Linked DNA regions of Homo sapiens: all the other regions are linked to region 3. Evidence: promoter capture Hi-C in 16 types of primary human blood cells and fetal thymus (Javierre and others, 2016). All regions are on one chromosome and are shown on one strand. Each heading gives the region's core, a stretch centred on a gene start or on the middle of the fragment in contact. The rest is flanking DNA. Distances are from core to core; before and after follow the strand shown.

Region 1 (2,700 bases), core at 29-2,528, 360 kb after region 3:
TTTCTATGAATTGAGAAGTACTTGTAAAAGGAACTATTATTTCTATAGTGAAGCCAGATTTATTCAAATTAGCATTCTGAGTTATTGCAGTTACCCAGTGGGTAACAGGAGTTCTTTTTAACAGGTTGCATAACAGTGCTACAATTTAGTTTCCTCATCTGTGGAAAACAGCAATTGCCACTATCATTTTTGAGACTTTACTGCATGCTACAAATTCTTTTTTTTTCTTTTTGATACAGGGTCTTGCTTTGTTGCTCAGGATGGAGTACAGTGGTGCAATCTTGTCTCACTGCAGCATCGACCTCTGGGGCTTAAGCCATCCTTGCACTTCAGCCTCCCAAGTAGCTGGTACTACAGGTATGTGCCCCCATACCCAGCTAGTTTTTGTACTTTTGTAGAGATGGGATTTCACCATGTTTCCCAGGCTGGTCTTAAACTCCTGGGCTCAAGTGATCCACCTGCCTCAGCCTCTCAAAATGCTGTGATTACAGAGCCACTGTGCCCAGCTAATGCCACAAACTCCAAGTCTTGAGTACGGTGATGTGGCTTCTGACTTGTGGTTGTAGCATCTGTAAGGGCACCACCGTTTAACCAGTTACACCATCTAGGAACACAAGGGCCATCTCTGACACCTTCCACTCCTCACCCTTTATATGCAATTTGTCATAAAGTATTCAATAAATGGTAGCTATTAATATTACCTCCACAATACAGATGAGTACACTGAGACTGAAGATTATTAAATAATTGGTCCATAAAAATCCTGGTAGGGAAGACATAATAATATTGTATGAAATGTAACTGAAGCTGGAGGATCAGGGAAAGCTTCCCTGATTTTCCACTGAGACGGGAAGGATGAATGGGTATCAACCATTTAATGGTGATGTGGGAAATGTGGTCCCAGAAGATGGAAGCACATCTTGAAAGGCATGATTCAAGACAGAATGCTTGGTATGTCTACAGACTTGACCTTTAATGAGCCTTTCTATGTGCCAACTACTAAACTAGTTGCTTTACCTGTATAATATTACTCAATCCTCAGAAAAATAATGGGTGCTATTACTTGCTAATTTTTTATATTAGAAAATTAACGTTTGGAGAGTGCTATATTTTGAATGTTTTTGTCCCCTCCAAAATTCATGCTGAAAGTTAATCCCCAGTGCAAGAGTATTAACAGGTGAGGCTTTTAGGAGGTTATTAGGCCATGAGTGCAGAATGGATGAGGGATTAGTGCCTTATGAAAGAGCTGGAGAGAACTAACTTAGGCTCTTTTGCCCCTCTGTTCCTTCTGTCCTGTGACACAGCTTTGCCCCCTCCAGGGGATGCAACAACAAGGCGCCATCTTGGAAGTAGACACCAGGCCCTCACCAGACACCAAACCTGCTGGTGCCTCGATCTTCAATTTCCAGCCTCCAGAGTGGTGAGCAATACATTACTATTACTCATAAATTACCTAGTCTCAGGTATTTTGTTATAATAGCACAAATGGACTAAGACAGAGAGTTATAATGGTCTCCATTATGCAGAATTGTTGTAAGTATTACATAAAATAATAAATATAAATGTACCTTTTGAACTGTAAAGCAAGTTGTACTCTCCTTCCTTATTGAAATATCATTAATATTATTTTAAAAGTATTTATTGATTGTTGACTATGTGCTAGACACTGTTGGTTATGTGCTAGGTATTTGGTATACAAGGTTGAACAAAATTATATGGTCATTATCTGCATCAAGCTTATTTACAATGAGAAAGAGTGACATTAATTAAAAAAATGTGTATTTATATATATATTTCCCCAATGTATGTAAAATTTGTTCAGAAAGGAAGTCAAGAAAGATGCCCTTGTGGGAATCACAACTGAACTGAGATCCGAAGGATAGGTGAGTAGTAGGTGTTTACTAGTTAAAGCAGAAGGGAAGCATTCTGTGCACCAAGTCAGCTTGGGCAAACCCTGTGGAAGGCAGGAAGGCACATGGTTCATTAAGGGAAACTGGAGCAACAGGAAGCCTGAGAGATTGCCCGTGTGGTTAGACCATGCAGGGCTTTGTTGGCCAAGTTAAAAAATTCAAATTTGATCTTTTTTTTTTTTTAACTTGTTATCAATAGATTGGTTGAAGGAACTTGATCCTAACACAGTGATATTTTCCTAGGATGGGGGTCAAGGTAAGGTTTGCCTTTCTAAAACTCACTCTAACTGCTGTGTGGAGAATGAGTTATAAGAATGTCTATAGTGGAAGCACTGAGCCCAGTTAGTGGGCTACTTCAGCTGTGGAGGAGGGGATAATATATTTGTTTATGTCCTCTTTCCTTTGTCAATGCATTCTTTAAGGTAGTCTTCAAATGGTATATAAAAAAACAAATTGAATATGAGTTATCTTTGAAAGATACGACAACTCTATTCATGGTTCTGATCTAACATATCCCAAATCTGCTTTCATATTCATTTTCCCAGCTATTCATTCATCCATCTGCCTCTCAGTTCATCTGTCAATCTGAAATTTATTCTGCACCTAGGATAGATAAGGCACTGTTATAGACACTAAAGATACAAAGATGAATAAAACATAACTCCTACCCTATGCTTTATTAGTACAATTTGTGAGACAAATAGGGAAACAATTTATATATGACTGGATAAAGCTAATGGATATATTTACACAAAAAGGAATTACTAACTGGCATAAACTGATTCATCTT
Region 2 (2,700 bases), core at 54-2,553, 300 kb after region 3:
ATTGCAAGTAAACATATTTTATCAGCTTATACTGACTTTTTGCAATAAACTTGCCCACAATTACACTATTAATTGGTTTGTCCAATGACCAAAATGAAGTTTGGAAAGCAGAAAGTCACTGTTCCCTAAAAGGATTCTGAGTTTTCTGGTGCTTTAACCACAGTTTCTGAATTTCTTTGAAACAGTTTTAACTCTCTGCTTTGGCATGTGTTTCTGTCATGTACCTAAGTCCTTGAGTTCATTCACTACAAGGCTCTGGCTTTGATCTCCAGCTCTTTCCACCTAAATGAATTTCCTCTTGTGACCCTAGTCTCTGCCTCCCTCCTGGTGGGAGTGGATGTTGTGGTTATTTTCCCACATTCTTCCCATGTTCATTCTGTTTTCTCTGTGTCAGTCCTTTGGGCAATTGGCCCTAAAGCAGCTCTAGAGGCAATTCCTGATTAATCTAATCTGTCCTACACTTGCTCACCACTCCATTGAAGCTGCTTCGATCATGTCATCAATGACCTCCATTTTGTTAAATCCAATAATCAATTCTCAGCTCTCAACCTCTTAATAGCATTTGGCATAGTTAATTACATGTTCTTCCTGGATATACTTCCTTCACTTGGTTTTCAAGACCTAATCAAGAAAATGGAAACTGCTGCTCGTGGTGGCTCATGCCTGTAATCCCAGCACTTTGGGAGGCCGAGGCAGGTGAATCACCTGAGGTCAGGAGTTCCAGACCAGCCTGGGCAACATGGTGAAACCCTCTGTCTATTAAAAATACAAAAATTAGCCAGGCATGGTGGCGGGCACCTGTAGTCCTAGCTACTTGGGAGGCCGAGGCAGGAGGATTGCTTGAACCTGAGAGGCGGAGGTTGCAGTGAGCTGAGATCGTGTCATTGAACCACTACACTCCAGCCTGGGTGACAGAGTGAGAGCCCATCTCAAAAAACAACAACAACAACAACAAACCCAGAAACTATTCTTAGTATTTGACCAGAGGGAACTTAATGCAGGGTCTTGAGGACACAGATGACAAAAGAGCTAAAAAGCCAAATGGGACATAGTGAGGCAGACATTGGCAACAGCAGAAACACAATACCAACTTGGGCTGGAGGAATAAAGACGAGAGAAGCTGGTAGCAGAGTCCATGGGCTGGGGTGACTCATCAGAAGCTGGAACTATGCATGGTTTGGCTGGCAGAAGCTGGAGCCAGGGAAGAGATACAACTACTATTAGAGATACTATACCAGAGAGGGGGATATAGCCCCTGGTTTATCCTTTGCTTTTTCTCTCCTATTTCTAGTCACTGCCCTCAGTAAACTAATCCCAGCTGGAAACCAGCTAACAGGAGAGTCTTGGAAAAGCAGCCTGCAGGTGTCAATCCACTGCAGAACAGACCACAGTGGGGAAAAGATGAGGAATAGGTTGAGGGTCGACAGGTCCAAGTCTGACACATCCAACTTCTTTTGTTTGTTTGTTTTGTTTGTTTTTTGAGACAGGGTCTCACTCTCTTGCCCAGACTGGAGTTCAGTGGCATGATCTCGGTTCACCGCAACCTCTGCCTCCCAGGCTCAAGCGATTCTCCTGCCTCAGCCTCCCGAGTAACTGGGATTACAGGCATACGCCATTACCGCCCAGCTAATTTTTGTATTTTTAGTAGAGACGGGGTTTCACCATGTTGACCAGGCTGGTCTCAAACTCCTGACCTCAAATAACCCACCTGCCCCAGCCTCCCAAAGTGCTAGGATTATAGGCATAAGCCACCATGCCTGGCCTAACTTCTTTATCCCCTACTTTACTGGTTGCTCCTTCTCAGTCTTCCAGCTGGCTCCTACTCTTCTCCCTAACCTCTTAATGTCAAGGTGTCCTAAAGCTCAGTTGTTCTATCTTCTGTTCTGGTATTCACAGATAGATGTTTAGTACCACTGCCCTCCCTCTCAGCCTTACATATAACAATTTATTGCTACTTCTCATATTTCTGTGGGTTGACTAGGCTTAGTTGAGTAGTTCTCTCTTGGGATCTATCATGAAGTTTGTGGCAAACACTGTGATTTATCAATCAGATCCCACTTTAAAAATGAAGAGCAGGTCAGGCATAGTGGCAGATGCCTGTAATCCCAGCATTTTGGGAAGCTGGAGCAGGGGATCAATTGAGCCAAGGAGTTTGAGACCCGCCTGAGCAACAAAGCCAGATCCCATATCTACGAATTTTTGTTTTTAAATAGCTGAGTGCAATGGCATGTGTCTGTAGTCCCAGCAGCTCTGAAGGCTGATCGGGGAGGATCCCTTGAACCCAGGAGTTCAAGGTTGCAGTGAGCTATGACCTTGCCACTGCATGCCAGCCTGGGTGACAGAGCAAAATCCTGACACCCGCCCCCCACCCAAAAAATATATATAGTCTCAGTTGCTGGGAGTATGGCTGACAGTTGGCCCTCAGCTGTCAGTCTCTTTCAGGAAATGCCTCAGCTTATGTAGGCCACCTCATCCAAGGTTTCCCACCCCACTCAAGGTAGCTCACATCCAGTGACTGATGATATGGGGATATAAAGCCCAGCCTTCTCATTCCTTAAGAAATTAGGTAGACACAAACCACTTATTTATTGATGGGACAGTAGAATTGTTCAGGTACAGACAAGAGATAGATCTAACAAGGTAGGCACTCCAAACATATTTGTTGAATCAATGAGTGAACTGATGATCTTTATTCAAATC
Region 3 (2,700 bases), core at 129-2,628:
CCCAATATTGCAAGGGGTGGACACCCCACAAGTCATATTGTTTCTTAAATCCAGGAAGGGAAAAGATGGTATTACTACCAATATTCAAAGGATGTACAGAACGCATTTCTTATTGTTCTTAATATCCAGGTCGAAAGGAGATAACATTACTTTTAATATAATAAGGGTGGTACACCCTGCCTGTGATATGATTCCTAAAATCTAGAAGAAGAGAGAATGATATTACTTCCAATAATACACTGGGTGTGCAACCCCCTTTGATATTGTTCCTAATATCTAAAGAAAGAGATGATGATATTACTCCCAATACTGTAGAAGGTATACACCGTCCTGTGATATTGTTCCTAATAACTAGTGGGTGAGGGCATGATATTATTTCAAATATCGCAGTGGCTTTACACCCCTTCCGTGATATTTCTCCTAATTTCCAGGGGGTGGAGTACGAAGTTACTCCCAATATAGTAGTGGGTGTACACCCACGCTGTCACATTTCTACGAATATTCAGGGAAACACAGCACGATAGAACTCCAAGTCTCGCAAAGAGTGTACACCATTTTGTGATATTGTTCCTAATAACCGGAGGTGGATAGGATGCTGTTAGTTTCAATATCGCAGGCTGTGTACACACACACTGTGAAATTGTTTCTAATGTCCAAGAGGGGAGAGAATGCTATTAATTCCCATATAGCAAGAGGGTGAGGCACACCCCGCCATATGGGGAGTAATAGGACCCCCCCTCCCTCCCTGGCTACTACGAGCCACATCGCTGGGGTGTGAGGCACCCTCCTGCCATATGGGGATTAATAGCGTCCCCCTTTCCCCCCCGACTATTACGATCCACATCGCAGGGGAGTGAGGCTTCCCCCGCGATATGAGGAGTAATAGCACCGCCCTCTCCCCCTCAACCCCCCGGCTTTTAGGATCCACATCGCAGGGGGGTGAGGCACCCCCGGCGATATGGAGAGTAATAGCACCCCCCTTCTCCCCCCCCCCCCCCCCCGGCTATTACGATCCACATCGCAGGGGGGGTGAGGCAGTTCCCGTGATATGGGGCGTAATAGTACCCGCTGTGCGTCCTGGTGGCTCCGGACCCGGCCCAAGCGCGGCGGGACCTCCATCCGTAGCCCTCTCCCCCAACGTCGCCCTCCCGGGGTCCTTGTCTAGTCTCAGCAGGCGGCAAACGGACCCCAGGCGTCTGGCGCTCACCCAGGAGACTGCCCAGCGGTTTCTGGAGAGAGCGCTAAGCGGAGACGCCCGCTGGCAAGCAGATCCCGCCTCCTTCCCTGGCCAAGGAGCCGCCCCTCCGGGGTAGCTGTGCGCTGGGCGGCGCTCGGACCCCTTGGCAGCCGCAGGTGCCTCCCCAGCCCAGCCCAGCTCAGTCCAGCGCAGCCCAGCCCAGCCCAGCCCGGCGCTCGCAGCCTCCGCCGCTTCCGGGCAGATAGGTGCCTTTTCTTGCTCCTTGCTCTTGGAGTTCTTCTCTTAGTCCCTGTTCCCTGGATGAAAGCATCGCTCCGAGCCTCATGGGAGGAATGAAGGAAGAATCGAGACTAGGTGAGTGGTGGTCTAGATTTAACGAATAATAACAATAAACCTGCATACTAAGGGTACTGTTGGGAAGCTAGGAAGTGCAAGGAGAAGAGAAGACAAAGGCTGCTGATCAAGATAACTCACAAAACTAAATGCAGGCTAGGGCCAATTCCAGCTATTTTGCACTCCATCCAGGTTCCCCTGCCTGGCACTGACTCATGTGCAGACCCAGACAGACTTCAATAAATATTTGCTGGGTTGAGACAAGTGAGTGGAGGTGTTTCTGCTTGTTCTCCAGCATCTAAACAAGCAAAACCTAGCTGCCTTTGATGATTGCTTCATCTCCACAAGGACTTTTTCCCCCAGGACTTAAAAAATAAAATGTGGTGTATTCACACAACGGACTGCTATGCAGCACTTAAAAAGCTAAAATCAGAGCTGTAGGGATCAGCATGCCTGTACCTAGATTTCAGAAGTATGATGGCAGATAGACACAGCAAGATGCAAAATATATCCACTCTCTCATGCCATTTAGGTGACTTATTTTAAGACACTTGTCATGTTTGTAAAATCATAGAAGGGGGACTGTAAAATGTTTATCACATCCGTGATTGTGGCTGTCTTTGGAAAGTGTGAAAGGGAAATCAATTGGACTTTAGGATTAAGGTGGAAATAATATTTCCCTAAAATGCTTTAAAAATAAAAATGATGATATAAAGATGACCAAATATAAACAATTGTTAACTGAGAGTGTTATTAACTTGGGCATTTTTCATGTTTTTGCCCCCTATTTTTAAAATATTTCTTAAACTAAGAAGTTCTGTTTTTCAAATGCAAACAAAATAAGTTGTGTCTATGCACATTCTGTGACAATGAAACCTAAAATGTTTAATCAAAAGTTGCAACTTTCTTGCATCACCTCCTATGTTTTCCAATCCTAGAAGACCACACCTCTTTATCTAGGGAGGCTTGGTGGTTAGAGAAGCTTACCTGTTGACAACCCCCAAATTACAGGCCAAAGATGAAAGGTTGGTATTAGGGAACTATTTCCCAGTTAATAATCTGATAATCGGCCAGGTCAGGGTAGACTCTGAAAACTCCCTGTGTCCCTGCAAGACAAATTTCTCCTCCTTTTACATTTCATATGCTTTGGATTTTCATTTTCATGGATG

The links. Contacts are between HindIII fragments. The CHiCAGO score rates a contact against its expected background, and 5 or more counts as called.
Region 1: a fragment that was not itself captured here is called in contact with the fragment with the promoter of STK32A in region 3 in 1 of 17 cell types (endothelial precursors); the score reaches 10.0 in endothelial precursors.
Region 2: a contact is called between a fragment that was not itself captured here and the fragment with the promoter of STK32A in region 3, in 3 of 17 cell types (M2 macrophages, M1 macrophages and M0 macrophages). The highest score is 5.7, in M2 macrophages.

The regions. Positions count from the first base shown.
Region 1 is chr5:147,594,121-147,596,820 of GRCh38, forward strand. All of the region lies in intron 21 of JAKMIP2 (janus kinase and microtubule interacting protein 2), which reads right to left. JAKMIP2-AS1 (JAKMIP2 antisense RNA 1) reads left to right here. Exons shown (of 4, transcript NR_038902.1): 2 at 240-357; 3 at 1,320-1,420. Among named protein-coding and RNA genes, the nearest start is that of JAKMIP2-AS1, 35 kb to the left of the region's middle. The HindIII fragment of the contact is 911 bases long and covers 824-1,734 here.
Region 2 is chr5:147,538,103-147,540,802 of GRCh38, forward strand. No RefSeq gene overlaps it. Among named protein-coding and RNA genes, the nearest start is that of JAKMIP2-AS1, 21 kb to the right of the region's middle. The HindIII fragment of the contact is 4,823 bases long and covers 1-2,700 here.
Region 3 is chr5:147,233,648-147,236,347 of GRCh38, forward strand. STK32A (serine/threonine kinase 32A) reads left to right here and starts at 1,379. Exons shown (of 13, transcript NM_001112724.2): 1 at 1,379-1,552. It overlaps STK32A-AS1 (STK32A antisense RNA 1), which reads right to left and starts at 1,212. Exons shown (of 4, transcript NR_147190.1): 1 at 1,066-1,212. The HindIII fragment of the contact is 14,744 bases long and covers 1-2,511 here.